Linked DNA regions of Homo sapiens: regions 1, 2, 3, 4, 5 and 7 are each linked to region 6. The links are contacts of gene promoters, found by promoter capture Hi-C in human tissues and cell types (Jung and others, 2019). All regions are on one chromosome and are shown on one strand. The core of a region is centred on a gene start or on the middle of the fragment in contact, and the rest is flanking DNA. Distances in the headings are between cores, read along the strand shown. Region 1 overlaps SDK1 (sidekick cell adhesion molecule 1). Region 2 overlaps FOXK1 (forkhead box K1). Region 3 overlaps FOXK1 (forkhead box K1). Region 4 overlaps SDK1 (sidekick cell adhesion molecule 1). Region 5 holds the start of AP5Z1 (adaptor related protein complex 5 subunit zeta 1). Region 6 holds the start of GNA12 (G protein subunit alpha 12). Region 7 overlaps FOXK1 (forkhead box K1).

What was found. Contacts are between HindIII fragments. The study calls those that stand out against the background at their distance.
Region 1: a fragment that was not itself captured here is called in contact with the fragment with the promoter of GNA12 in region 6 in 1 of the 25 tissues and cell types used here (dorsolateral prefrontal cortex).
Region 2: a contact is called between a fragment that was not itself captured here and the fragment with the promoter of GNA12 in region 6, in 1 of the 25 tissues and cell types used here (dorsolateral prefrontal cortex).
Region 3: a contact is called between a fragment that was not itself captured here and the fragment with the promoter of GNA12 in region 6, in 1 of the 25 tissues and cell types used here (dorsolateral prefrontal cortex).
Region 4: a fragment that was not itself captured here is called in contact with the fragment with the promoter of GNA12 in region 6 in 1 of the 25 tissues and cell types used here (dorsolateral prefrontal cortex).
Region 5: a contact is called between the fragment with the promoter of AP5Z1 here and the fragment with the promoter of GNA12 in region 6, in 2 of the 25 tissues and cell types used here (lymphoblastoid cells and spleen).
Region 7: a contact is called between a fragment that was not itself captured here and the fragment with the promoter of GNA12 in region 6, in 1 of the 25 tissues and cell types used here (lymphoblastoid cells).

Annotation. Positions count from the first base shown.
Region 1 is chr7:4,114,823-4,118,885 of GRCh38, reverse strand. The region is part of intron 25 of SDK1 (sidekick cell adhesion molecule 1); the gene reads right to left. Among named protein-coding and RNA genes, the nearest start is that of FOXK1, 570 kb to the left of the region's middle. The HindIII fragment of the contact is 4,788 bases long and covers 1-4,063 here.
Region 2 is chr7:4,753,265-4,757,150 of GRCh38, reverse strand. FOXK1 (forkhead box K1) reads right to left here. Exons shown (of 9, transcript NM_001037165.2): 3 at 2,536-2,692; 4 at 1,768-1,914; 5 at 1-157. Among named protein-coding and RNA genes, the nearest start is that of AP5Z1, 20 kb to the left of the region's middle. RefSeq lists a silencer at 2,959-3,253 and enhancers at 3,251-3,340, 2,845-3,399. The HindIII fragment of the contact is 4,385 bases long and covers 1-3,607 here.
Region 3 is chr7:4,694,471-4,698,513 of GRCh38, reverse strand. The region is part of intron 1 of FOXK1 (forkhead box K1); the gene reads right to left. Among named protein-coding and RNA genes, the nearest start is that of FOXK1, 14 kb to the right of the region's middle. The HindIII fragment of the contact is 7,115 bases long and covers 1-4,043 here.
Region 4 is chr7:3,908,986-3,912,791 of GRCh38, reverse strand. The region is part of intron 5 of SDK1 (sidekick cell adhesion molecule 1); the gene reads right to left. Among named protein-coding and RNA genes, the nearest start is that of SDK1-AS1, 560 kb to the right of the region's middle. RefSeq lists an enhancer at 688-1,887. The HindIII fragment of the contact is 4,501 bases long and covers 1-3,806 here.
Region 5 is chr7:4,773,480-4,777,592 of GRCh38, reverse strand. AP5Z1 (adaptor related protein complex 5 subunit zeta 1) reads right to left here and starts at 1,970. Exons shown (of 17, transcript NM_014855.3): 1 at 1,837-1,970. The coding sequence starts at 1,877. RefSeq lists enhancers at 1,292-1,401, 1,422-1,481, 1,822-1,891, 2,322-2,411, 2,452-2,501 and 2 more and a silencer at 2,012-2,141. The HindIII fragment of the contact is 20,755 bases long and covers 1-4,113 here.
Region 6 is chr7:2,843,052-2,846,919 of GRCh38, reverse strand. It overlaps GNA12 (G protein subunit alpha 12), which reads left to right and starts at 2,612. Exons shown (of 4, transcript NM_007353.3): 1 at 2,612-3,067. The coding sequence starts at 2,759. RefSeq lists enhancers at 2,119-2,248, 2,231-2,525, 2,488-3,305 and silencers at 2,419-2,748, 3,089-3,138. The HindIII fragment of the contact is 31,365 bases long and covers 1-3,868 here.
Region 7 is chr7:4,726,271-4,730,418 of GRCh38, reverse strand. The region is part of intron 1 of FOXK1 (forkhead box K1); the gene reads right to left. LOC124901581 (a long non-coding RNA gene) reads right to left here. Exons shown (of 2, transcript XR_007060199.1): 1 at 3,556-4,148; 2 at 398-2,762. Among named protein-coding and RNA genes, the nearest start is that of FOXK1, 46 kb to the right of the region's middle. The HindIII fragment of the contact is 6,895 bases long and covers 1-4,148 here.

The DNA of each region.
Region 1 (4,063 bases), core at 677-3,176, 1.3 Mb before region 6:
CTCTAGATTTGCCTATTCTAGATGTTTCCTACAAATAGAATCACACAATATGTGGTCTCTTGTGCCTGGTCTCTTTCACTTAGCCTAATGTTTTCAAGGTTCACCCACACTGTAGCATGTATCAGAATTCCATTCCTTTTTATTGCTGAATCATCCATTGAATGCATAGACCACATTTTATTTATCCATTTGTCAACTGAGTGATATTTTGGTTGTTTCCACTTTTCGGCTACTATGGATAAAGCTGCTATGAACATTTATGTGCAAGATTTTGTGTAGACATATGTTTTCTGCTCTCTTGGGTACATACCTAGGAGTAGAGTTGCTTTGTCGTATGGTGACTCCCTGCTCAACCTCCTGAGGAATGCCAACTGTTTTCCAACGTTTCTGAATCATTTAATATTCCCACCAGCAACGTACAAGCATTCCAATTTCTCTATGCCCACCAATACCTGTTATTGTCCAACTTTTCTTATTTTAGCCATCTTATTTTAGGAGTGTGAAGTGGTATCTCATTGCAGCTTAGATTTGCATTTCCCTAACAGTTAATGATGTTGAGCATGTTTTCATGTGCTTGGTGGCCATTTGTAAATCTCCTTGGGAGGAATGTCTATGCCGATCCTTTGCCCAGTTTTTAACTGGGTCATTTGTCTTTTTGTTGTGAAGTCTTTATATATTCTAGATATAAATCCCTCATGAGATACATAATTTGCAAATATTTTCTTCCATTTGGGGAGTTTTTTTCATTTCCTTTATGACATTCTTTGAAGCATAAAGGTTTTCATTCTGATGAGGTCTAATGTATCTACTTTTTCTTTAGTTGCTCGTGCTTTTGGTTTCTGGAACCAAATGTTACATTAATTTCTGTTCTGGGAGTTCCTGGGCCATCCATATAATGCAAATTCAAAACCCAGTCCTGAGCTGGGCACAGGGCTCAGACTGACTTTTCATTCTCTACTCAGAGTCCAGGTAGACATACAGTCAAACCTCTGCAGGCAGAGTTTCAGCCTCTCCTAGGAAGGAGGGAAAGGCCTTCAAGAGCCGTGTCTCAACTGCAGGAGTTTAGGCCCTAACTCTTCCCTTACACAGATTCAAAGCTGACTCTCATGTTACTGCATGGCCTGCCCAGTGTATCTACAGTTCCCGGTGGCACCTGCAGACACACTGGATGCGTGCTGGTGCCCACAGTGTGCTGGGCACTGCTGGGCCCAGGACCAGGGTGCAGACTCCTTACCCCAGGTCCTGAAACCACCAGGAAAGATCCAACCTGATCCTATCCCACCCAGGGCAGCTGCGGCACCAGCCCAGCACTTCCTGCTGAACTCTTTCTAGTTCCTGTTATGCCTCTGACACCTGAGGATTTCCCTGTTTTTCTTATGAGTGTGTTGATGAATTCATTTATTTACTTATTTTTTAGAGGCATAATAACCTGCTCCGTTGGCCAGGCTGGAATGCAGTGGTGCGATCATAGCTCAGTGCAGCCTCAAACTCCCAGGCCCAAGCCATCTTCCTGCCTCAGCCTCCCAAGGAGCTGGGGCTACAGGTGCATGCCACCACACCTGGCTAATTTTTGTATTTTTTGTAGAGATGGGGTCTCACTATGTTGCCTAGGCTGGTCTTGAACTCCTGGACTCAAGCTATCCTCCAGACTCAGCTTCCCAAAGTGCTGGGATTACAGGTGTGAGGACCCTGCCTGGCCAATACATTTAAGATTCCAGAAAGTTATATTTTATCCATAAGTTTTTGTTGGTTATGGCAGAAGTTTTAATTCTGAAAAACTATTTTCTTGGCCTGCCTTTTACTGGATTTAGAACTGTCCCTCTGAACTTCTCAAGTTCTCTCCTTTGTCACAAAGATTCAGACAGTGAAGATAACAGAGATTTTTGAAATCCACGTGACCACAATCCCAGGCTGCATGTGGGTGCGTCTCCACCTTTCCTTTGGAACGTAATGAAAGCTTCAGTCTGAAGGAGAGCCGAGGGACACTGGGCCCAGCCCTGCTGCTTGGGCAGTTCCATCCTGAAACACTGGTCCTCTCAGAAGCACACTGGTTGTCACCACGGCTGCTCTTCCGGGGCTCTCATTGGTGGGCTCCAGGGTTCACGCCACGCCCTAACAGCATTCCCACAAGGCCATGGTTCTGCTTCTCCCTGCTACTGCTTAAGAGTCCTCCTGTCTACCCTCACCTCCTGCCCTCTGAGAAGAGTAGGAAGAAATAAAGCCACAAAGTGGCACAGGAGCTTTGGCTTGGTGCTGGTGGCTGAAAGTTAACCAGCATTGAGGAAACCCAGGGGGCTTCTGTGCATTGCAACCCACTGTGCATTACAGTAACCTACAAGGGTGGCGGCAGGTTCAGACCTGTCACCAACGGGACCCGGGGAATGAGCAAGAAAGGATGAGAGGAGCCTTTATCCAGAGCTTCCCAGGCCCTTCCACGCTGTGGCACACAGAGCGGGTGGCACGTGCAGATGCACTGGGCACGTGCTGGTGCCCTCGGTGTGCTGGGCGCTGCTGGACCCAAGCCCAGGGTGCAGACTCCTCACCCCGGCCTGGCTGTCTCGAGGGTGGAGGGGTGGTGTTGGGAATACCTGCACCCATTGCAGCACCTGGCACGGATAAGATGAGCATTAGGAAGAGGTGAGGGGGTGGCACCGCCCAGGGCTCCAAGTCCCCTTTCCTTATTGCTGGGAGCTGATCTGCGTCCTCACTCCAGCTGTCCTCAGAGGCTGCCCTCCCACCTCGGCACCACCTTCTATGTTTCCCTCTTCATCTTTAGAGCAGACAGGCCAGGCCCGGGAGCCCTGGGCCCCCCAAGTGTCTATGCTTTCCTCCCTTTTAAACTCCTCTGTCCTGAGGATGGCAGCCCCCCAAAGCCACCTCCACCCATGCCAACAGGCCTTGTGCCCCCACGTCATCCGCCTCCTCCTGCTGACTGTGCGAGGTTTTCTCTGATACCCGTCACGCACTTGGCTTCCTAGCTCATCTTTCTGTCCATTTCCCATCAAAGTCACTCTGAGTTCCAACTGTGTCTCCTAAGGCAGTTTCCAGCATCTAGCAAGTTAATTAATTTTTCTACTGAAAACAACAACAGGGGGACTGTCTCTTTGCACGGCATTGTAGTACAGGGACAGAAGCAGGGAGGCTCTGGGTTGCAGAGAGGGCAGATCCGGGGCATTTCCGAGGACTCTGGGGTGGAAACAGCTGTGGGCAGGCCCTGGCCATCTCTTGACTCCCCAGCTTCAAGAGCGATTCTGTGCCCTGGGAGCCCCAAGGAAAGGAGGACTCATGCTGGGCTCAGGAGCTGTCTCCAGGAAACAGAGCCATGTCTACGACAGCAAAAACAATGGAGCCAAATATTCTCATTAACGCAGAGAGTCAGAGAAGAGAAGCAAAAGAGAGCGAATAAGAGGGTTTGACATCAATAAGCAAAATGGATCTAGGCTCCCTGGGGGAAGGAGTGGGGGAGTCTTGTTCTTTTCCTCTGGCCACTGACCCAGTTCACCATCTCAACCCTTCATACCTCCTCCTCATCCCATGTCTGGACAAAGGTCAGGAATTTAAGTTGTATTTCTAACAGCCTAGGTTAGTCCAGAATGAACAGCCCCTCCATCTGTCAAGCACAAGCTGTGACTCTCATCCAAGAAGCCTGGGGCAGAGGTGCAGCTGGTTCATTCCTTCTCCAGACAGAACCTCACTAATTCAGATCAGACTGAAGGGACCGGGGTCAGGTGACAGTGAGTCCTTCATGAGCGTTAATTGCCGTCCTTCCTTTGGGTTTCTAAAAATTTAAGGAGGGGGGCAAGAAAAGCTCCTATGACCCACAGTTGGCCAGCGGAAGTTAGTCCACAAAGCCCAGAAGATTAGGCAGCCACTTTCAGCATTAGCACAGGGCAGCAGAGGTCTGCTCAAGGTTGGCCAAAAACACTGCTCCATTGCTTCCTGGCAACTGGCAGAGCCCCATGACTGAGCCCCAAGAAGATGAACAGAGTGACGTTCCACTCCTGAACAGGTCTGAAGAGGTCCATTCTTTGCCTTCTTTTCCCTGCTGGCAGCTGGGTGCAGA
Region 2 (3,886 bases), core at 166-2,665, 1.9 Mb before region 6:
AGACACCCCTCTGCCTCCGTTTCCGGAATGCCTGTTCCACGAGCTTGGCTTCAGAGGCAGGGTCTATTCGCCAAAAGGACCCCTTCCCAGGCTCCTCCTGGGAACGTGGGACTTTGATAAAGTAACGGTTCAAAGAGAGGTTGTGCCGGATAGAATTCTGCAGGGAAGCAGAGATATTCACCCATCACCAGCAAATCAGAAAATGAGTCCCACCCACCTCAAATCTGCAGCAGATGCGGGACCAGGGTGAGGGGAGGCCGTCCCTCTGTGCAGAGCCCTTGGTGCTGTGCTGGCTGGGCCTCACGGGAGCAGCACCGAGGCACAGGGCAGGTCATTCCTATCAAAATTTGACACCGCATAATTACCATTTTACCTTTTTTTTTTTTTTGACGGAGTCTCATTCTGTCGCCCAGGATGGAGTGCAGTGGCACGATCTCGGCTCACTGCAAGTTCCGCCTCCCGGGTTCAAGGGATTCTCCTGCCTCAGCCTCCTGACTAGCTGGGACTATGGGCGTGGGCCACCATGCTGGGTTGATTTTTTTGTATTTTTAGTTGAGATGGGGTCTCACACTCTTGGGCTTAACCAATCCTTCCACCTCGGCCTCCCAAAGTGCTGGGATTACAGGCATGAGCTACTGTGCCTGGCTGCCATTACCATTCTTTACAGAAAAAGTGAAACAGAAAGACAGATCCTGGTCTAGGAGCACATCTGGGAGAAAGAAAACACTGGGTCTTGGCCGGGCACAGTGGCTCACGCCTGTAATCCCAGCACTTTGGGAAGCCGAGGCTGGCAGGATTACCTGAGGTCAGGAGTTTGAGACCAGCCTGGGCAACATGGTGAAACCCCATCTCTACTAAAAATACAAAAAATAGCCAGGTGTGGTGGTGGGCACCTGTAGCCCCAGCTACTTGGGAGGCTGAAGCAGAAGAATCGCTTGAACCTGGGAGGCGAAGGTTGCAGTGAGCTGAGATCGCGCCACCACACTCCAGCCGGGATGGCAGAGCGAGATCCTGTCTCAAAAAACAAACAAACAAACAAAAAACCAAAGCTAGTGGATGCGCTACACTGACATTGGAGAAAATACAGGCAAATGCAACATGCATCAGTCATGGCTGGTGTGGACAAAGCTCTTAAAATGCCATCCACAATTCAGACATGTGGATTGTTTGAATAACAGTATATGGTACATTTTTCCAACTTAACGTGGGATTGTGAGGCACAGCAAGCACAAAAATCTAACAAGGTGTAGATCCATCTTCTCAGTTCTGGGGCTCAGAAGAAGGAAACTAATAAAAAAGAGTATTTAGACACAATGGTATCACAGCGCTAATGCCTTTCAGATGTACCATATGCCATTCGTGAAAACATCCCTCTTTTATATTTATCTTCTTAGTTAAAAAGATATTTTTTTTCTTTGTAGACACAGGGTCTTTCTCTGTCTCCCAGGCTGGAGTGCAGTGGTGTGATCATAGCTCACTGCAGCCTCCACCTCCTGGGCTCAAGTGATCCTCCCACCTCAGCCTCCGAGTAGCTGCGACCACAGGTGTGCACCACCACACTCAGCTAATTTTTAGTAGAAAAGAGGTTCTCTCTATGTTGCACAGGCTGGTCTTGATCCTCCTCCTGCCTCGGCCTCACAAAATGCTAGGGTTCCAGGCGTGAGCCCCCTCACTGGCCCTCTTCTGTTTTAAGGGAAGCAATATGCCTGTGAGTTCCATGTTCTAAGGGCCTTCAGAGGCGATCCGGCCCTGGGGACTCGGCTTCACCTGCCAGCCTTTGTCGGCCGTCCGGTAGTAGGGGTAATGCTTGGTGATGTGGGCGTAGATCCCGCTCAGGGTCAGCTGCCGGTCCTGGGCGGAGGAGATGGCCTGCACGATCAGCTGCGCGTAGGAGAACGGCGGCTTTGACTCATCCTGCGGAGAAACACGGCTCACGGGATGAGCTCCAGCAAGGTCCCTGAGTCTACCCCACCCACCCGTCACAGCTGATGGGGAGGAACCTTCCCACGAGAATGTGCGCGTCTTGCCGGCACCCGTCCCAGTGCCCTCCAACTATCCCATTAATGTGCTTGCATTCAACTAGGAACAACCATTTTTGCCTCATGGGAAGGAAAACTTCGGTTTTATTATAATTTAATTCTGAAATTTCTCACCTCTTCCAGAAATCAATTTGAAAACAGCTATTGGACAAAAATGAACTAAGACAAAGTTATAAGGAGAACGCCATCCTGCTCAAGGGCTGTATGAAGGCTTTGACGCCGGGCTGCCAGCGGCAGATGAACAAGGAGCGTGGCGGGAGGGGCCCTCGGTGACGGCGCCACCCCTGTCACCAGCAAATGACCAACGGGGATGATTTGGGCACGAAAACGAGAAAGGGCCGACGGCTCTACCGCCAGCTGCGGCTCCATTCCCTGTGGGCTGAGACCACCTCGAGCACACGCCCGCAGGCCCTGGGCTGTCTGTGCCGCCCGCGCCGGGTCACTATGGCCCGATCCTGGGTCACCAGGTGCACCACGGCGCCAGGTGGGCTCAGACCTTGGGGCTGTCTCCTCCAGACGTGTCTGCCTGCTGCTCCGACGCGGCCTTTGCTGCAAACTCTGCTGCCAGCTGCAGGTCCGAGGTCACGTTCTGCACAAAGCGGTAACTGGAGGAGCCGGCACCGCGTGGACTGGCTGGGCAGGAGTTGGGGACACTGAGGAGAGAGAAGGACACTGTAAGTTCATGGCTCTGAAGAGGGGGCCCCTGTGGGGCTCAGGGCTTCAGGACCTACCCAGAGGGTGGGGCTGTGGGGAAGAAGCTCACACTTTCCAATTTTAAGTGCCACCACACTGCCCGGCCAAGGTCACGCAGCGGCGGGGACAAGATGCTGGAAACGGCAGGCAAGTTTCCTTCCAGTGGTGACTTCTGCTCGGGGGCTGAGAGCACCGCGGGCCCTCCTCCTGCCATTATGCAGGGCCCAGGGCAGCACCTGGTCAGGCAGCTCTGTGGGGCCCCTCCTCAGGTCCCCCCACACACACCCCTACAGGATGTGCACCCGGAGCAGGTAGCCTCCGCGGGCTGCTGGCTCCTGCACAGGTGTCCACAAGGCGGCGCTGTGGGAAAAGGCTCGGGCCCAGGACAACCCCGTGTGGTCACAGAGGCAGATCCTGGAAAGAGGCTGTGGAGGTGCCATCGCCCTGCAGGGTGAAGGCGTGGCAGGTGGCTCTCCTGGAGACACCGCCCTCGGGAAGAGATGACCCCTGCAGTTTTGCCCTGAGCCGCTGAGATGCCCCTGCCCTCATCCCCTCTCCCTCCCAGGCTGGAGCAACCACAGATGGCTGGGAGTGACCGACACCCCCGGCTGCAGGTGAGGCTCTGGGTTGAGGCCGGGACCACAGGCAGGAGGCTGCGTCCGTCCGGCTGAGGGGTGTGCTCTGGCCTGCTTCCCTAACTCACTAAGGCAGGCTTCCGTCAGCAAACCACGGCGATGTTTTGCTTCTGAAAATGATTTCTATTACAGGTATTCAGAGAAAGCCAATGAAGACACGAAGAGTGGGTGCAGAACCTCCCGAGAGAAAGAGATCCCACTGTCCTGAGCTCACGGGCACCCACCTAGCCCCGTCCTGAGATGGACCCTGCCCACCTGTGATGCTGACATCCCCCCTCTCAGCTGACTTAGAGCCCCCGTGGCGGGTAGGATGCTCCCTGCTGCACTGCCCTGCAGGCCACCCAGAACCATCCAGAACCACCCAGAACCATCCAGAACCATCCAGAAGGTCCATTCTCCTCCTCCCGCCTTGCTGCCCTTTCCTCTGCCAGGAACATCCTTCCCTAACTGTCCAGGCACAAGACTCCTAGATCTCCAAAACTTAGGTTAAGTAGGAGCCCCCTTGGGTGCAGGCGGGGC
Region 3 (4,043 bases), core at 1,243-3,742, 1.9 Mb before region 6:
CATCATTAATGTTCCTAAATTTAATAACAGACTGTGATTATGTAAAATATCCTCCACCCCATTTTTGGGTGTCCTGGGGTAGGTGTGAATAAAATATCTTTATTCTTGCATATGGTGAAGCGAGAAAAAAAAAATCCTTATTCTTAGGCAATGCATGTTGTGGTATTAAGAAAAAGGGCACGATATATATATATATATATACACACACATACATATATAAAATCGCACTCTCAGATAACATACATATATAGAGAAAACGCTAAACATGGCAGAGCACTAAAAATGAACAAATCTGGGCAGAGGACATGCAGGAGTTATTTGGACTCATCTTGCAACATTTTTGGAGGCGTGCAACTTTTTCAAAACGTAAAATTTTAATAACAAATTAGGGCTGGGCACAGTGGCTCTCGCCTGTAGTCCCAGCACTTTGGGAGGCCAAGGCAGGAGGATCACTTGAGGTCAGGAGTTCAAGGCCAGCCTGGCCAACATGGTGAAACCCCATCTCTACTAAAAATACAAAAATTAGCCAGGCATGATGGCGCACCCTTGTAATCCCAGCTACTCGGGAGGCTGAGGCAAGAGAATCACTTGAACCCAGGAAGTGGAGGTTACAGTGAGCTGAGATCACGCCACTGCACTCCAGTCTGGATGACAGAGCGAGACTCCATCTCAAAATAAAAAAAAGAAAAAAAAATTAGTTACTATAAAACTCATACCAAAGAAACACACACACACACACACACACACACACACACACACACACACACACACAGCCTATCTTTCCTGTATGTAAACACTAACCTTTAGAAAATAATAAGAAAAAAAGATCCTATTCATATTCCCAAAACCCAGGATTCAACCTGACAAGAAATGTGGAGAGAAATTGGTAATAAAAGGTGCTGATGAACCCAGGTAAACGCACTGATGTGGAAGAGTAGAAGTCTGTGGCCTAAGGCAGGGGTGTGCAGACGGGCCACCAGGCATGGCCAGAAGGAAATAACACAGGCTCTGGGGTCCACATGGTCTCCGGCTCAGCTCAGCAGCCACAGACAGCACTTAACAAATGTGCCTGGTGTGTTCCAATAAAACTTTATTTACAAACACAGGCAGCTGGCAGGGTCTGGCCCACAGGCTGCAGCTGGCTACCCTGATCTGAAAAGTTGGCCGTGAATACCGGCTAGCTGTTCAGCAGGCCACTGTCATCTTCTTCCTGAGCACGTTGCCTTCCCTTGGAGTGGCCGGAGACTGAGCTCTGGTCACTGGCTTGAGTGGAAGTGAGATATGCTACTTCTGGGCCTGGCCTCCCCTGAGCCTCCCTCTTTTCCTCCAGATGCAGACAGCACTGCAGCAGGTGCAGCCGTGCCCAGGCCGCTGGACTCCAGACAGTGCCAGCCTGGGTCCCTGAATCACACCTTAAGGGAGGCATTTTCTTTTTTTTGCTTATTGAGACAGTCTCGCTCTGTCGCCCAGGCTGGAGTGCGGTGGCAGGATGATCTCGGCTCACTGCAACCTCCGCCTCCCGGGTTCAAGGGATTCTCCTGCCTCTGTCTCCCGTGTAGCTGGGACTACAGGAGCACACCACCATGCCTGGCTAATTTTTGTATTTTTAGTAGAGATGGGGTTTCACCATGTTGGCCAGGCTGGTCTCGAACTCCTGGCCTCAAGTGATCCACCCACCTCAGCCTCCCAAAGTGTTAGGATTACAGGCGTGAGCCACAGCACCTGGCCCGAAGGAGGCATTTTCTGCCCACCATTCAGAAACATCTACTGTGGACTTTCCATAGGCAAGGTTTTGGGGTTTATCTATTAGAAGGGCTAGCAGGTTATAGCAGATGACACCTGGAAGTGTGTCTTCACTGGCACTGGGCGAGGCACTGAGAACAAAATGCCTCCCGAAAGAACCAGCCCCTGCCCTCGAGGGACTCGCAGCTTCTGGGAGACGGAGATACCCGGTATTCACACCAACGCTTAATGACCACCCCGCAAGTCCCACGAGCTCAAAGGACGAGTACTCCGAGGGCTTATTAAGCAAAGGCTACCTGGTACAACCGTGTGACGGGTAGACGACAGACATGTCACGCGCACACACCTGCTTATCAAGGAAATTACAAATCTGGAAGGACATGAGCAAAATACTAATATTTATGAGCTCACCTGTAATCCACCCACAGCCAATACACACAGTAAATCCAAGCTAGACAGAGCCTCGGCGATTTATTTCCCCTACATCAGCAAGCTTGTCCCTCTTCTTTATTATCCATCAGAATCTCCTAGATGATTTGCGTCTTTCCTTTGGCTTCAAGAAGGAGAGTTAAGACAGGGACAAATGGAAGCCTCCCCTCCTAATGTATGTCAGGGGTCAGACTCAGCACAAGATTCTTTTTTTTTTTTTTTTTTTGAGACACAGTCTTGCTCTGTCGCCCAGGCTGGAGTGCAGTGGTGCATCCTTAGCTCACTACAGCCTCCACCTCCTGGGTTCAAGAGATTCTCCTGCCTCAGGTTCCTAAGTAGTTGGGATTGCAGGTGCACGCCACCACACCCAGCTAATTTTTGTGGGAATTTTTTTTTTTTTTTTTTGAGACGGAGTTTCGCTCTTGTTGCCCAGACTGGAGTGCAATGGCACCATCTCGGCTCACCGCAATCTCTCCCTCCTGGATTCAAGCAATTCTCCTGCCTCAGCCTCCCAAGTAGCTGGGATTACAGGCATGCGCCACCACGCCCAGCTAATTTTGTATTTTTAGTAGAGACGGGGTTTCTCCACGTTGGTCAGGCTGGTCTCGAACTCCCGACCTCAGGTGATCCTCCCACATTGGCCTCCCAAAGTGCTGGGATTACAGGCGTGAGCCACCACGCCTGGCTAATTTTTGTATTTTTAGTAGAGACGGGGCTTCGCCATGTTGGCCAGGGTGGTGTCGAACTCCTGACCTGTGATCCTCTCACCCTGGCCTCCCAAAGTGCTGTGATTACAGGCATGAGCCACCGCGCCCCGCCTTGAGCCACATTTCAAACACTCAACAGCCACACATGCCTAGTGGTGGCCATGTTGGACAGCACAGATATAAAACATTTCTACCACCACAGGAAGTTCTAGACTCGCCATGGCATCCCTGATTGGCCAATCCAAAGGTAGGCAGGCCTGTAAAATCTGTCCACACCACAATTTACAGAGAAAAAGAGAATTGCAAAGGAAGCTGGATATTCTAGCAAAATCTTCTTGCAGGTTAGGAACCAAATTAGGGCTGCAAGTGTTCCCTGGTTAATATGGACTCCAACCCGAGGGAGGTGGATATTCTTAACGGAAAGATGTTTTCATCAAGCGGCGATGAATCACTGTTCCCAATGCCAGGGCTGTACAGCCAAGCAGACAGAATGGCTCCATCCCAAGGGCAGAGGTAGCGGACACAAACTTTGCAGTTCTCCTTCTTCTGGAGCCTCATGGCTAAGGCCGGCCTGTTCTGTTGTCTGGCAGTATCAGCTATCATTTTAAACATTCTTTCAAAGCCAGCTCCAAAGAGTTTACAAATCATTTTTCATTGACTAAGTTCCAGCCACAGCTTCTTGGTAAGGCGCAGGAGGTTCCCTAATTTCATCAGTAAACTGTATCCAAGTCACAGGATGGGAGGGTGTATTTCTGGGAAGGTAGACGACTAATCCCACCCGGGGCGGCTTGGGCATTTATCCGGGCGTCAGTTCCTCTGGCTCCTGGGTTTGGGGAATGAGACGGTCTCTGCTGACAGGCGCCCTGCAGCTCCCTGCTACTAACTGACCCCTGTGGACTCCCAGTCACCAGGTGAGACCCACACGGGTCATCCTACAGACAAGGCTGGCACAAAGCTCCAAATCTAGGCTATGATACTATTTTTGGGTTCCATATGCTGCCCCCAACAAAAACAAAAATAAAGACCAAGCCCCAGAATCCATTTGTGAGAGAGGGCACTGTTGGGGTCTGTGGGCGGGGCTGGGAGGAGCCTCTATCACAACTGTAGGTCTGGAAAAACAGTAAGGACCTTTCCCCCTCGTGATACAAATCACAAGAAGCAAAG
Region 4 (3,806 bases), core at 514-3,013, 1.1 Mb before region 6:
CAAGTCCCTTAGGTCTCCTTCCTCTTCCTTCTGTCAACTGTCTTGAGCCCCCACGGGCCAGACCGTGCCGGTCTCTGCCAGAGGAGAATGATAAGTAAATGCATGAAAAGCCATCCGTGGGGTGGGCCCAGGGGGCAGGAGAGCCCAGAAGCGGGTGCCCCAGCCATGCCTGCCTGGGAGAGGGAGGTATTTGGAGGAGTTGTGGGTGGTTGGCTTCCCTATCTTCAGTCCACTGAAGCTTAGCTTGAGCAATCAGTACCTCTTCCCCGGATAAATATCAAAGCCTCTCACTGGCCTTTCTTCTTGCTTCAGCGCCTCACAGAATGCAATGTTTCTTGAACCACACTCTGTGGCACGCTGGTGTTGTACTTGCTTATTTGGTCATGCAAAAACACTGAGTGCCTACTGTGCACCAGTTACCGTGAAAAAGAGGTTTTGTGGTCAAATACATTTTGGAACTCTCTCTTCTCAGAGTTCACAATACACGCATTAGCATCTGAAAGCAAATTTTGGAATAAATAAAGAAAGCTCCTCCTCCTATAGCCTAAGAAACACATTTAGAAATGGATCCACTGGCTCATCCTCTCTATTACGGAGTCCTCTTCCTAAAACACAGCGCTCATCACGTAGCTCCTCGGCTTTAAACCTTCAACGAGGGAACAAAATAAACTTCGACTCTGCTCAAGCTCCTCTGTAGTTTGGTTTGTTTCCCAGACTTCCTTGGCCGATCCTTTGTTCTAAGTGAACAGGGCCCCCTTGCCCTGCACGCCCCCGCACCTACAAGCTCTTGCTCAAGTTGGCCCCTTCCCTAGAATGCCCTCCCCCACCTCATCTCTGCTCTGAGTCATCCTTCCAGGTGCAAGTCAAACGTCTCCACAGCAAGGTGAGTACTTTATCCAGCTCCCTCAGGTCACATATTTGCACCCTGCACTAGATTATAGCATGATTCACTACTGAGGGAAATTTATAATTTCCCCTTAAGCTCCTCCAGGGCAGGGCCTGCTCCTTGTTCAGCTGACTCATTTTCACATCTGTGTGACCTCCCTCCTCCAACACCTAATACAGAACTAGAGACAAAATGGGTACAGTAAAGAGATGGCTGGCCTGGGCTACCACCGGCTGTAAGACCTTGGGCAGGTGATGTGGTTTGAATGTGTCCTCCCAAAATTCATATGTTGAAACCTGCTACCCAAGGTCATAGCATTAAGAGGTGGAGCTCTGGGGAGGAGAATGGATCAGGAGGGCAGAGCCCTTGTGAATGGGATTAGTGCCCTTCCTCAGGTAGCCTGAGGAAGCCCGTCTGCCCTTTCCGCCATGTGAGGACACAGCAAACCAAGAAATGAGCCCTCACCAGACACCGAATGTGCTGGTGCCTTGGTCTTGGACTTCACAGCCTCCAGAACTGTGAGCAGTAAGTTTCTGTTGCTGACAAGCCACTCTGTCTATGGCACTTTGTTACAGCCCCCCAACAAAGACAGTAGGCTGCCTAATTCTGATTGCTGCCCCTTCCTAAAGTGGGGGTACAGGATCTAGAGGACAAAGAAGCATGGGTTTTAAATTCAGCCATTTCACAGGCAGAAGGAACAATCCCACAGCCACAGCAGCCATGTGAGCACATGTGCCTTCAGGTTTATCTGTAATTTTTTTTATGTGTCCTTTCAACTTTTGTCCCAGTTACAAAGACTGCAGAGGCCTCCAGCCGGGCCACCCTAGTCCCCCCAAAATGGAGAGCTGACCCAGAGGCAAGGCCACCCTCTTGGAAAGGCTGTGCATCAGTGGCGCTGGAGGAGAGCGGAATGCCCAGAAGAGCAGGCAGCGGGAGACAGAGCAGCACGCCTGAGCTTGGGGAGAGAGGAGCCACAGGGCCCCAGGAAGAGGCCCACCCTGCTCCACAGCGTGGGCCACATTTATGGGATACAACAGAATGCCGATTATCCGGACTAACTGGGGATTTAACAATCTGAATAATCAGTTTTTCTGGATAATTGATCACGAGGGATGCAAGGAGAGGAATCATCAGCCATTCAGGCAGAAAGGCCCAAGAATTGGCCTTTCAAGTGACCTGAATTCCAGAAATTAACACTGAACACTATGTATCATGCAACTGGGAAAGGAGGACGTCCCATTCTACACCTGTCAATCACCGGAGCCTGGGCAGCGTACTTATGCAAAAAACAAGACTGGGGTCTCAGGAAGACCTTCTTAGAGGCCTGTAAAAGCTTCAGACTAGGATGGTAGCGCCGAAGGTAACCGAATGGCACGATGACTCAGTACTTTTTGGTGACCTCCGAAAGCTCAGGCACCTTCCAAAATGCTAAGGACACAGATGCCCGGCACACACATACACACACAGAAATCTGGCCTCTTCAGGAAATATTCCGCACTATGCAGCTATTTTCCCTACACATGCAAATTCTCCAACACAGAGAGTCTTTGTACACATAATACTGTTTGAAGAATGTGCCTGACAAGAGACAATTTTGAACAGAGTATTGTGCTGTGGTGATGTGGCAGCACAGCAGAATAATCTGTTTTTGTTTTGTCTCTCTTTGAAACGCTCAGCCTCTCTCTCTGCTTGGCTCTGTGCACTACAGAGAGAACAGAGGCACCAAGCGCTGCACATTCCAGGGGAAAATAATGCTCCTGTCTGCTGACGCAGCACCACGCAGGGGGCCATTCGCACACAGGACTTTTTCTTTTTCCCCCTGCAAAGAAACACAATGATTCCACATCAGCCTCTCCAAAAAGTGAACAGTCCTTTCAGATGGCCTTTCCATCCATGAGCGCTTTTATTATCTTTATACATTTTAAATGAACCTTGCCCTTGGCCTCTACTTTTTCTAACATGAAATATTCACTTCCCCGGGGTGTAGATGCATAATAATCCCTCCTGCTCATTATAGGTTTTCAAAGCTGCATTTCCATCCTGTTGTATTTAACTTTTATTCAAAAAAAGGCTGATTTATATATGAAGAGGTGCCTCGCTTTAGGCAAGCACGCTATGCAAAAAGATAAAGCCATCGACCATGAGAATTAAGAGACGGATGGTTCTTTAATCCCTGAGCTTCTTTGTAGTAAATTAAAAAATATTCCTACTTTAAAGCCGTGTATTTGTGTATCCTTAGACATAATACAGCCTCATACTGGAGAGCGCATATAGGCCAGCTCCACGGACACACATGTGATGAGTGCTCAACACTGTAGTGGGTGTGGTGGGGTCACTAACACCGTCACTGTCCCCTTTTCCCGAGCTTACTGTCTTTGGGAGAGGTAGGGATCAGCAGAAGCATAAAAGGTAGACAGTGTTGCTGTGTGGCCATATGAACCTGAGCAGAGGCCACAACTGGAGGACGGAGGAGGTCCCTCAGGATGGGCAGAGGCTACTCCACCCACCCCTGCTCCACAGCTGCTCCACAGGAGCCAACAGCAGTGCCTGCACAGTAGATGGGGTGTCCGCCCCGCAGCCCAGGCAGGATTTAAGTCTGGAGTTATTGGCGGCCATCTGGTCACCACCCGAGAGAGCCTGCTGGAGAGCAGAGCTGAACTAGAGGACAGCAGAACTCCGTAATGGAAAACAGGTGTATGATGGAGTAGAGGATGAGGGTCTCACTGCGTCTGAAGATGGTCTGCCTTGGACCCTTCTCTGACTTATGCCAAGATACTTCCTATTTATTTCTAAAGCCAACTCCAGGAATAAATAACTTTTAGGGCAACTGAGAGAAAAGGGGGCCAAAAGGCACAGCCAGAGGGGCTGTCTTCCTCATCTCCTCCCACCCTGGCTCACTTGAGCAGGGGGCAGCCATCCG
Region 5 (4,113 bases), core at 721-3,220, 1.9 Mb before region 6:
ATGTGGTGAAATCCCATCTCTACTAAAGATACAAAAAATCAGCCGGGTGTGGTGGCGGGCGCCTGTAATCCCAGCTACTTGGGAGGCTGAGGCAGGAGAATTGCTTGAACCCAGGAGGCGGAGGTTGCAGTGAACTGAGATTGCGCCATTGTACTCCAGCCTGGGCGACAGAGGGAGACTCTGTCTCAAAAGAGACTCTAATAAAAATAAATAAATAAATAAATAAATAAATAAATAAAGAGGGCTCTTCCTTTTGTTTTTCATGTCACAAGTTTATGACCTTGAGCAGAATGTGACTGGGAATGAAGTTCTCAGTGGGTGTTTTTCCTTGTCTCTTGGCAAGGACCTTGGGATTAACATGTTACATGCTGAGATGCCAGTATTTTTCATTTTCATATAGTCCCCACATTCACATGAATGACATATCTGTCCAGGATTGAAGGGAAGGTTGCCTATGTTGAGCTGCTGGGAGATGGTGCTGCATATTCACCAAGCCTCTTCCTAATGAGTGGACTCTTAAGGGTTATTTTGATCAGAGATTTTTGTCCTGTTCGGGCTTTAGAACTTAACCTGCCTTCAAGACCTCACTCACTATAATCACAGCAATTTCAACCACCCGAATCTTTCCCACCAATTGGTCTAGCTCTGAGTCCAGGTTTGCTTGTTTGTTTTGACATGGAGTCTCGTTCTGTCACCCAGACTGGAGTCCAGTGGTGCGATCTTGGCTCACTGCACCCTCGGCCTCCTGGGTTCATGCACTTCTCCTGCTTCGGCCTCTCACCTCACCAAGTTTGTTTACGTTTACCAAGGGGCTGTAGTGCTGGCTGTATTTTCTTTACTTTTTTTCTTTTTTCTTTTGAGACGGAGTTTCGCTCTGTCCCCCAGCCTGGAGTGCAGTGGCGCCATCTCAGCTCACTGTAACCTCCACCTCACAGGTTCAAGCAATCCTCCTGCCTCAGCCTCCCGAGTAGCTGGGATTACAGTCACCCACCACCACGCCCGGCTAATTTTTTTTTTTTTTTTTTTTTTTGTATTTTCAGTAGAGACGTGGTTTCCTCATGTTGGGCACGCTGGTCTCGAACTCCTGACCTCAGGTGATCCGCCTGCCTTGGCCTCCCAAAGTGGTGGGATTACAGGCGTGAGCCACCACGCCCGGTCAGCATTTTCTTCTTTTAAACATGTAGTATGAAGTCTTTGCCTGTTTGGTGGACCGTGAGTCTGTTCAGTCCTGGCTTACACTGTTTTCCCCCATGACTGGTTAGTTGGTGAGGAAGGAGCTACTCACTCGTTACTGGGAGTCCAGACACAGCCTGAAACCAGCCTGGAGGGTGATTTCTCAGCCTAGCTAATACATCCGCGCAAGAGAGATCTTTTTAAGTCACAAAACCCTCCCACGGTTCCGCAAAGCCCTCGGATGGCCTCCAGCTCCCCAGCCTGGCACACAGCCTTATTCCTTAGCAGGCCTCCGGACACTGTGACTTTGCGTTCTTGACTGTGAGGCACTGAAATCTCCCGGCTGCCCGATTTCCTGCCAGACGCGGAGTTCTCACCGCCAAGCCTTTGACTAAACTGTCGACTGGGTCCCACCCCACTTGCTTTCACTCACCAAGACTCTGCTCAAGTGTCACCTCCTCCGGGGACCCACCATGACCCTCCCCGACCTCCTCACCCCAAGCCTGGCCGCCGTGTTGCCTTACCCGATCCCCAAGTCTCGAGGGCGAGTCCAGTCGGGTTCCTGCAAGGCTGGCGCCCAAGCCCCTGCCCTGTGAGACCCACCCCCGTGTGCCCCTAGGGAGAGATGCAGGAAGGAGGGCCGGGGCCGCAGCTCCCCCGTACCTGGCCTGGTGGAGCAAACTCTCCGCTCCTGCCGAGAACATCACGCCGCCGCCACCAGACGCGCACGAACCTCGGAAACTCCAGGAGCTGCAGCCCAGGAGCTCCGCACCCCGGTCAACTTCCGGGACCGCGTCACGTGAGCGCAGCGGCCTTACGTGGCTGCGTCACGTGCCGCATCACATGAGCAGGAGGGACAGGTTGCCGACCAATGGGCTTTGGCGTGGAGCGACTGGGGCGGGGCGTAGGTGCCGCGGCCGGGGGTCCGGGTCGGCGCCTGGGAGCTGCGGAATCGCGCGACCCCGGAACCTCGGCACTCTGGAGCCCCGGCGCCCTTCGACCCCGGAAAGCATTTCGGCGGAAATTGGGCGCCTGGGGCTTTGGGAGAGGGCATTGCTGGCCCCAAAGTGTCACTGCCCCAGTTCTGGTTTCTGTTTCGTAAACAGCTTTGTCGTGCGGGAGTCCCTTTGCTAAGTACGACCTGAAAATCTGATGCAAACTCCGACACTTGTGGGCTGAGCCCAGCAGTGTCCAGCAGTTTGCAAGGAATAGCCGCGGCTCTGGGCAGTTTTGGGGATTTTTTGAGCTCCCATTTATTGAGCACCCATCCCGCGCTGTTCCTGCTGCTTGAAACGAAAAAATCCCTTATTCAATCCCCACGGTATTCATGGGATCTCGCGATCTCTGTTTTACAGATGAGGCCACAGGCTCGGAGAGGGGAAGTTTCTGTTCATTCTAACGGATGTGTTGGGTGCCCAAATGTGCTGGGCCCTGGCCATAAGTTTGCCATCCTGCAGACGGCCGAGGGACACAGGGCGACACGCCAGCGTCATGATAAACGCTATGACAGCCTGACCTGGTTGGGGGTCCAACCGGAGGAGGAAGGCTTCGGCGACTGCGGCCTAAGATGAGCCCAGAGGGTGTCCAGACCAAGGGGTGGGGAGGGACGGGCCTAGGGTAGCGATCTGCTTCCTATGGCTTAAATGCACCCCAGGAGGAAACTGATCTCTGGCCGCAGGGGAGATAATGGATTGGGAAGCTCCTGAGGGAGAAAGGAGGCTGGTGCAGTTGTGGTCCAGGTAAGGGAGGTTGCCCCGAAAGTAGGCAGATTCAGTACCATTTAGAGGTAGGATTTGCACCACCTGTGATTGAGGAATTTGCAGGCAGGAGGAAGAAAGTGGAAAAATCAAGGGTAACTTCATGTTTGTGGGGTGTCTGTCTGGGGCAGAAAAGGACGAGGAAATTTGTGCCAAGAGTCATTCATTAAGTGGACAAGCGATGATTGAGTCCTAGCTGCGCTAGGCACTGCTGAAGGTTCTGGGGAATAGGGTAGGGGTGGGAATCAATGTTGCGTAGATAGGGTGGGTCAAGGTTAGGCCTTGAAGGGATAAGCCCCGAGAAGACCCCTGGATGGAAGGAAGGAGGAGGAGGAGGGAGGGCTTCCTGCAGGAGTTCCAAACATGGCTTTGAGATGCCCTAGGGCGCCCAGTGATGTCTGAGGGCACCTGGTGCAGAGAATGAAGAGATGGGAATCGGTGGATGGTGAGCGGTGGATGGGAGTCGGTGGAGTGCGGCGGGTGCCCCTGGAGCCGCAGGTTGAAGACTGGCAAAGGAAAGCTGGTGACAGGTAGTCTATGGAAAGCCTACTGCCAGTGTTTAACGTTTACTAGGGTAAAACGTCCACACCAAAGCGCACAAATCTTAAATGAACTCCACTATTTACATTTCTAGAAATCGGTGGTAAATTTGCAAATGTCTTAAGCCTCGGCTCCATTGGCGACGGTGGGGAGCCGGGGGTTGATTTGTGTTTGATAATTTCTGTGGTGTAAATGTTCCTGCCATGGTTTGAGTTCAAGACCTAGACCATTTCCAGCTCCCCAGAGGTTCCCCGCTGTGGCCCCCTCCCAGTCAACGCCCACTCCCTTCCCCCACAAGTAACTGCTAGTCTCTCTTATCACCAGAGATTAGTTTTGCGTCTTTTTATACTTCATGCAAATGGAATCGTACCGTACTTAGCTTTTCTTGTTCGTCCATGAATATTTGGTCGGTTTCCAGATTTTGACAATAACGAATAGAGCTGCAGTGCACAATTGTATGTCTTCTGGGGTTCTGAGAGATGCACCCCTCTTTGTTGTATAGATACCAGGTTCACAGGGAAGCTAACTTTAACTGAGATTCCAACTGTGTGCCAGGAATCTCAATCTCTCTCTCCCTCTCTCTCTTCACACAGACACGACCTTAAGCAATTTTACCAGGGGTAATATTTGACTTGTTTCTTAC
Region 6 (3,868 bases), core at 1,363-3,862:
TCACTGCCACTTCAGCCTCCTGGGATCAAGCAATTCTCATGCCTCAGCCTCCTAAGTAACTGGAATTACAGGCGTTCACCACCATGCCTGGCTCATTTTGGTATTTCTAATAGAGATGGAGGTTTCACCATGTTGGCCAGGCTGGTCTCAAACTCCTGGCCTCAAGTGATCTGCCCACCTCAGCCTCACAAAGTGCTGGGATTACAGCCTCACAAAGTGCTGGGATTACATGGTGTGAGCTACCATGCCAGACCTAGTATTTGGCCTTCCCGTTTTTGTTTTTTTTTTTTTGTTTTTTTGAGGCAGAGTTTTGCTCTTGTTGCCCAGGCTGGAGTGCAATGGTGCGATCTCGGCTCACTGCAACCTCCGCCTCCCGGGTTCAATCAATTCTCCTATCTCAGCCTCCCCAGTAGCTGGGATTACAGGCGCCCGCCACCACACCCAACCAAGTTTTGTATTTTTTAGTAGCGACAGGGTTTCGCCATGTTGGCCAGGCTGGTCCTGAACTCCTGACCTTAGATAATCTGCCTGCCTTGGCCTCCCAAAGTGCTGGGATTACAGGCATGAGCCACCGTGCCCAGCCATATTTGGCCTCCTATGGGAGGTCATTTCCACAAACAAGCAAGACTTTCTAATCATTTTCCAAGGATTACAAAATCTTGACTCATAAGTGATACAAATTCATGGCATGATTTGTAGTATTTGTAGCAAGTGACAAATAATACATATTATGTGCATTCAAGGTTGTCAGGGAGTTGGTTTTTGTTTTGTTTTGTTTCTGAAACAGGGTCTTGCTCCGTTGTCCAGGCTGGAGTACAGTGGCACGATCATAGGTCACTGCACCCTTGACCTCCTGGGCTCAAGTGATCCTCCCACCTCAGCATCTCAAACTGCTGGGACTGTAGTTGTGAGTCACCGTGCCCAGCCTTCTGGGGAGTTTAGATCTGTGACTAAGCAAAAAGAACAAATCTGGAGGCATCACTTTACCTGACTTCAAACTATACTATAAGGCTATCGTCACAAAAACAGCATGGTACTAATATAAAAATAGGCACAGAGACCAATGGAACATAATAGAGAACCCAGAAATGAAGCCAAATACTTACAGCCAACTGATCTTCAACAAAGCAAATGAAAACAAAGTGGGGAAAGGACAGCCTATTCAGCAAATGGTGCTGAGATAATTGGCAAGCCACATGTAGAAGAATAAAACTGGATCCTCGTCTCTCACGTTATACAAAAATCAACTCAGGATAGATCAAAGACTTAAATCTACAACCTGAAACCATAAACATTCTAGAAGATAACATCGGAAACATCCTTCTAGACGTTGGCTTAGGCAAAGACTTTGTGACCAAGAACCCAAAAGCAAATGCAACAAAAACAAAGATAAATAGATGGGACTTAATTAAACTAAAAAGCTTCGGCACTGCAAAAGAAATAATCAGCAGAGTTAACAGACACCGCACAGAGATTGGACTTTGGGGACTCAGGGTAAAAGGTGGGGGGTGGCGAGAGATAAAAGACTACACACTGGGCCAGGCGCGGCGGCTCACGCCTTTAATCTTAAGGGATACCTGAGCTCCTTCTAGGAGGTTCTGATTCAGTAGATCTGGGAGAGTCAAGAATCTGTAATCAGCTGATCTCTATCAAGAGCTGATTTTGGGCTAGCTCACGTGCTAAGTGTTTGGTAAGTTCATGTTCTCAGTTTATATCTTCATGACGATTTGAGCAATGTCAAGCCATAACCAATGTCGTCAATGACACCCCCGTTTTACAGATGAGGAAACGGAAGCTAAGAACATCCAAAAGGGTTTGTTGGGGGGGGTGGGGAAAGCTGCTAAAAAAAGTTATGCAACTAGTACACCTAGTAACTGGTCGACTGGAGATTCCAACTCAGGCCCAGCAACTCCAGACCCCACTCTCTCAATCACTGTGAGACATAAGACTTTTGGGGGAGCTTCTGGTGATTTTAGTGATTAGTCAGCTTTTCGCAAAGCCTCCTAGAAGCCCATGCCACTCTCAAAGGGTGCATGTGTTTGAAATTTATGGCCCATCCCCCTCCAGTGTTTCTGGAAGGAAAATAGTGTAGAAACAAGATCATCGGAGGGAATACGACGAGCAGCTGAACCTCTTATCAGCATTTCCCAGCCTTTGGGCTACTCCGCGAGGTCCTGGTCTCACAGGCGGACCCAATCTGGGAACCAAGGGAGAATCTTTCTGTACACCTGGCACTTCTCGTCACGCCCCGTCCCCCGAACACCCAATCCAAAGCCCGTTGGGCACGTCTGATGTCCACTCAGAGCAATTATAATTGGCCATGGCGGACGATCGCTCCGCCTCCCGGGCGACCCCGCCTCCCTTTCATTCTGAAAGAAAGAACCTCAGCCTGGGCGTCCAATGAGAAGCGCCTTCACCTCAAAGATCCCGCCTCTTTCGGCGTCGACCCCGCCCCGAGGCCGGAAGGGATGCCCGCCTCCCTTGGCGAGATGAGCCAATCGAAGGGCTCTCACGGCCAGATGGACGGCAGCCGGCCCAATCCGCCGGGCCTCACGCGGCGCCGCCCGCCCCTCCGCCGGGCCCGAGTGGCGGCCGGGCGACGAGTGCGGGCCTCGGAGCGACTGCAGCGGCGGCGGCGGACGCGGCCTGAGGCGAGCGGCGGGGCGTGGGGCGGTGCCTCGGCCCGGGCTCGCCCTCGCCGGCGGGAGCGTCCATGGCCCCCGGGCGCCGGCGGGGCGCGGCCGCGGCCTGAGGGGCCATGTCCGGGGTGGTGCGGACCCTCAGCCGCTGCCTGCTGCCGGCCGAGGCCGGCGGGGCCCGCGAGCGCAGGGCGGGCAGCGGCGCGCGCGACGCGGAGCGCGAGGCCCGGAGGCGTAGCCGCGACATCGACGCGCTGCTGGCCCGCGAGCGGCGCGCGGTCCGGCGCCTGGTGAAGATCCTGCTGCTGGGCGCGGGCGAGAGCGGCAAGTCCACGTTCCTCAAGCAGATGCGCATCATCCACGGCCGCGAGTTCGACCAGAAGGCGCTGCTGGAGTTCCGCGACACCATCTTCGACAACATCCTCAAGGTGACGCGCGCCCCCCGCCCAGCACCTGCACCCAGGTGGGCCGGGGCGCTAACCCCCGCCCCGGGCCCCTCCGTGGTCCGCCGCCGCGGGCGGGGACCCCTGGGGCGAGGATGCTGGATCCAGCCCCGCCTGCACCCCACTCCCCCCCGACCCATTCCCCGAGGCCTGCTGGCGTCGTCTCTGCCCCACCCCGTCTCGCCCTTTTTGAGATGGGGTCTCGCTGTGTTTCCCAGGCTTGAGTGCAGTGGCGCCCTCACAGCTCACTGCAGCCTCGACCTCCCAGGCTCAAGCCCTACTCCCTCCTTAGCCTCCCGAAGTAGTGGGATTACAGGCGCGCACCACCAGCCCAGCTAATTTTTAAGTTTTTTTTTGTAGAGATGGGGTCTTGCTGTGTTGCCCAGGCTGGTCTCAGTCTCCTGGCCTCAAGTGATCCTCCTGCCTTGGTCTCCCTCAAGTGCTGGGATTATAGGCATGAGTCATGGCGCCCGGTCTGCCTCTGCCCTCTCTAGGGTGCCTGGGGACCGTGGGAGTGGGAACTCGGGCCAGCTTCTGGGGATGGGGAGTGGGGGCTTGGCACTTAGCCCCCTCCTGGATGTGCCCTAGCAGAATGGTATCTGTCCATTTCCCACTGGAAGATTTGTGGGATAGGAGCCCAACCGGCCGTGCCCTCCGGCTGAGCTTAGAAGAAGAGCAGTGGAGACTGGACGGGAACCAGCCATGAGTCTCTTTTTACTTTTCTGTTTTTTTAGAAAGGCTCTCACTCTCTTGCCCAGGCTGGTCTCAAGCCATCCTCCCACCTGG
Region 7 (4,148 bases), core at 1,549-4,048, 1.9 Mb before region 6:
GTCCATGCCACAACCCTGTTCTCCTGAACCCCACGGCTGACAGCGGTGGCAAGCTGGGTAGCAGGGTGGTCAGAGACACAGCTCTGTGCCTGCCCATCACTCACCCTGGCCGAGTGTACTCGGCTCTGGGCCCTCCGTTCTCGCAGTGACAACAATGTGGGGGTGTGCGTGGTGTGTGTGAATTAAAACCCGGTAGCAGTTTTAGTGTTTATAAGTTCTTATGCGTTCATAGGGCCTAATTTGTTTAAATAGGGAGAATGCATCTATTTTTGTAATCAGGCAAATAAGCATGTCCTATTTGGAAAAAGAAAAGACAGCGAGATACTCAAGCCCATATGCTGAGTCGGTGACACGCGGTGAAAAACGCAGACAACGGTCTGACCGAAGCCGGGCTTTCTTTTTCCTTTTCTTTTTTTTATTTAAATTGTTTCGACAGAGTCTCGCTCTGTCGCCCAGGCTGGAGGGCAGTGGCTGGATCTCAGCTCACTGCAAACTCCACCTTCCGGGTTCAAGCGATTCTCCTGCCTCAGCCTCCCGAGTAGCTAGGATTACTGGTACCCACTACCAGGCCTGGCTAGTTTTTGTATTGTTAGTAGAGATGGGGTTTCACCATGTTGGCCAGGCTGGTCTCAAACTCCTGAGCTCAGGTGATCCACCTGCCTTGGCCTCCCAAAGTGCTGGGATTACAGGCGTGAGCTGCTGCACCCGGCCAGGGTTTCTTTTTGAAGCTGAAGTCTCGGTCTCTGTCTCAGGAAGACCCTGGAGGAAGGTGGCGAGAGACCTCACTGAATTAGGATAGAGCCCCACAGAGGCGGCCAAGCACAGCCATGGCCACCGACCCTCCCTGGGGCTCAGGTGTGTGTCCTGCCGGGTGGGGCTCCCGGGGCCCGGCAGTCCTGAGCACCCCATGGCAGCACAGGCGAGGACGGCACCCTCGGTGTTCACAGCTCCTTCAAAATCCCCCCACCTTCCCTTCGCGGAAGGAACGCTCATCTGGTAGGTGACTGCTTCCCAATCCCAACATGGGGACCCGTGGTGACTCCCACAGCTTTACTCTGCGGAGGCTAAGGGACCCCCAGATGACTGACACGGCCAAACGGCGGTGGCCCCAGCGATCTGCATTTCTAGCAGACGTTCCACTCCCCAGACAACCCTGCCTGGCCCAGGAGAAAGCCACTGCCTGCTGCTCCCGAAGAGGATCCTGAGGATCGGAGAGTAGGCTCCGAAATCACCTCCGCTCCCCACCATGCTGTGTGGCTTAAACAGACGTAAAAAGACCGCGTAAAGATGGACTAGGCTCTTTAAGACAGCGGACACAGACACAGTGTTCTGCAACCCTCTGGGGCTGACCCGGGCAGAGCTTGCTTGCGACGAGCAATTCAGGTTAACTTTCATCTTCTGTCTCTACGCTGATTTAAGAAAATGCTTCTGGGAAGTCAAAATGGCTTAATCTGCAGATCTCAAAATGCTGTCCACAGTAATTCCACGTAGTCATTATTCACTGGCCACCTGACTGATACCAAGTACCAGACGCTGGTTTATCTGCATAGACTTTGCGTCCTCTAAGACTGTTCCCCAGGGTCCCCTTCTCTATCTAGGCAGCCTTCCTTGAATTCCCTGGCTCACTCTCATGCCCGACTTAAGAAAAATACGTTTTCTTTTCTTTCTTTTTTTTTTTTTTTTTTTTTCAAAAAGAGACGTGGTCTCACTATGTTGCCCAGGCTGGCCTCAAATTCCTGGCCTCAAGTGATCCTCCTGCCACAGCCTCCCAAAGTGCCAGAAGTATAGGCTTGCACCACCACGCCTAGCTGGTAGCAGGTTCCTGGAGGAGGAGTCCCATCTGCTGCTGGTCTGTTCTCCCCACAGCACGTGGCTCCCACAGGGCAGAGGGTCAGTACACACACAGCACGTGCACTTTAGTGCACACGAGTAAGAGTTCATAACCATGCAGTTCTCTCAGGAATGTGGAGTCTCCCAGGAGGTGAATGCATAGAAACAAGTTTACATGTGAAGTGGAATGAGCTTAATGCTCAACAGCAGCACAGCCGCAGCCGGACAACCCCGAGGACTGAGGGTTAAAATCTGGGTGCTCTTTGGAAATTCCAAAAACCACAGAGAAATGATTAGACTTTTCTGATCCTGGATTAACCTTGAAAGGACAGCAACAATACCGCCTTTGCTGTGTTAGGATCGATGATCCAAAGAATCAGAGAACGTTTGGCAGGCAAGAAAGAGTCGTGTCACATCTCCACTGGAGGCGGGGGGCTGCCAACAGAACTGCTCCAAACAGAAGCTTGTGAGCCGGTCCCGGCTGCCATCCAGGGCCAGGGCAGTCCCCTGGTTGCTGTCCCGGGGGCCCAGCTGCCTGAGGTCAGTGCCACTAAACATGGCTGGGGAAGGGCCCCTGGAAATGTCTGTGCAGTGATTGGTATCTGTCTATACCAATGCCAGTCCAATCGGCAAACACACGCCACCGACTGTCTCCATTTTACCGGCCGCTTTTCCTCCCCTCCCGAAGGACGGGTGTCCAAGCACCAATGTGAAGACCACGGACAGTCCCAGGAGAGGTTCAGGCATGGCCACAGGAGAGGTTCTCTGGCAAACAAGTTATAATCTCGTTTACTCTGGTAAAGTGTTTCCTCCGTGCGCGGGTTCCCACCCAGGAGAGAGCACTCTGATGTGACATCGAGGAGTGACGGGAAGGTGGGACAGGGCCCAGTCTGCCGCAGGGACGGACAGCAGGCCGCCCTCAGCACTGAAGCCTAAAAGGAGAAACACCGCACTTTAGAACAACCTGCAAAATCAGGCCGGGCGCCGTGGCTAAGCCTGTAATCCCAGTACTTTGGGAGGCCAAGGCAGGAGGATCACCTGAGGTCAGGAGTTCAAGACCAGCCTGGCCAACATGGTGAAACGGGTCTCTACTAAATATATAAAAACTAGCTGGGCGTGGTGCTGCATGCCTGTAATCCCAGCTACTCCAGAGGCTGAGGCACAAGAATCACTTGAACCCGGGAGGCGAAGGTTGCAATGAGCTGAGATCACACCATCACACTCCAGGCTGGGTAACAGAGTAAGACGCCCTTGCCAAAAAAATAAACAAATAAAATTTAAAAATAAAGTAAAAGAATAACCTGCAAACCTTAACATGAAATTCTATAATAATAATAGGCTGGGAGCAGTGGCTCACGCCTGTAATCCCAACACTTTGAGAGGCCAAAGTGGGAGGATCACTTGAGGCCAGGAGTGCAAAACCAGCCTGGGCAACAGAGTGAGACCCCGTCTCTACAAAAAATAAAAATAAAAAAATTAGCCTGGCATAGTGGTGCATGCCTGTAGTCCCAGCTACTCCAGGAGACTGAGGCAGGAGGATCACTTGAGCCCAGGAATTCAAGGCTGCAATGGGTTATGATTGTGCCACTGCACTCCAACCTGGGTGACAGAGCAAGACCCCGTTTGTAAAAAAAAAAAATTAAAATTAGTAGTTGACAACTAATATCTGCTATTATTATATATACCAGGTACTGTGTGCTAAGCACATTAAGTAAATTAACTCACCAAAATATCCCACTTCTCTGAACACTCTGGTGATGTATGAATACACAGAGTTTGAGGGAAAGCGCCTGTGTTGTCATTTCCCCCTATGAATAGAGTGGGCGAAAAGAGAAGTCTTGAGGGCAAAGCAGCTGCCGCCCTGCAGAGGGGAGAAGAAACAAGAGCGACATGGCAGGAGTGAGCTCCCGCTGTCTGTCTTCTGGACTCAGGCACCTCCAAGGCCCAGGCACGGTTTTTTTTTTTTTGAGACGGAGTCTCGCTCTGTCGTCCAGGCTGGAGTGCAATGTCACAATCTTGGCTCACTGCAACCTCCACCTCTCGGGTTCAAGCGATTCTCCTGCCTCAGCCTCCTGAGTAGCTGAGACTACAGGCACGTGCCACTGTGCCCGGCTAACTTTTTTGTATTTTTAGTAGAGACAGGGTTTCATCATGTTGGTCAGGCTGGTCTCGAACTCCTGACTTCAAATGATCTGCCAGGCCCAGTTTTGCTAAAGCTGATGGAGGAAACGCTTTCAGAAGCAGAGGGCAGAATCCAGGAGGGGCCTGCCAGGAAGGTGATCGCCGTCCTGCCGCGGCCAGCTCCAACAGACGGTCTG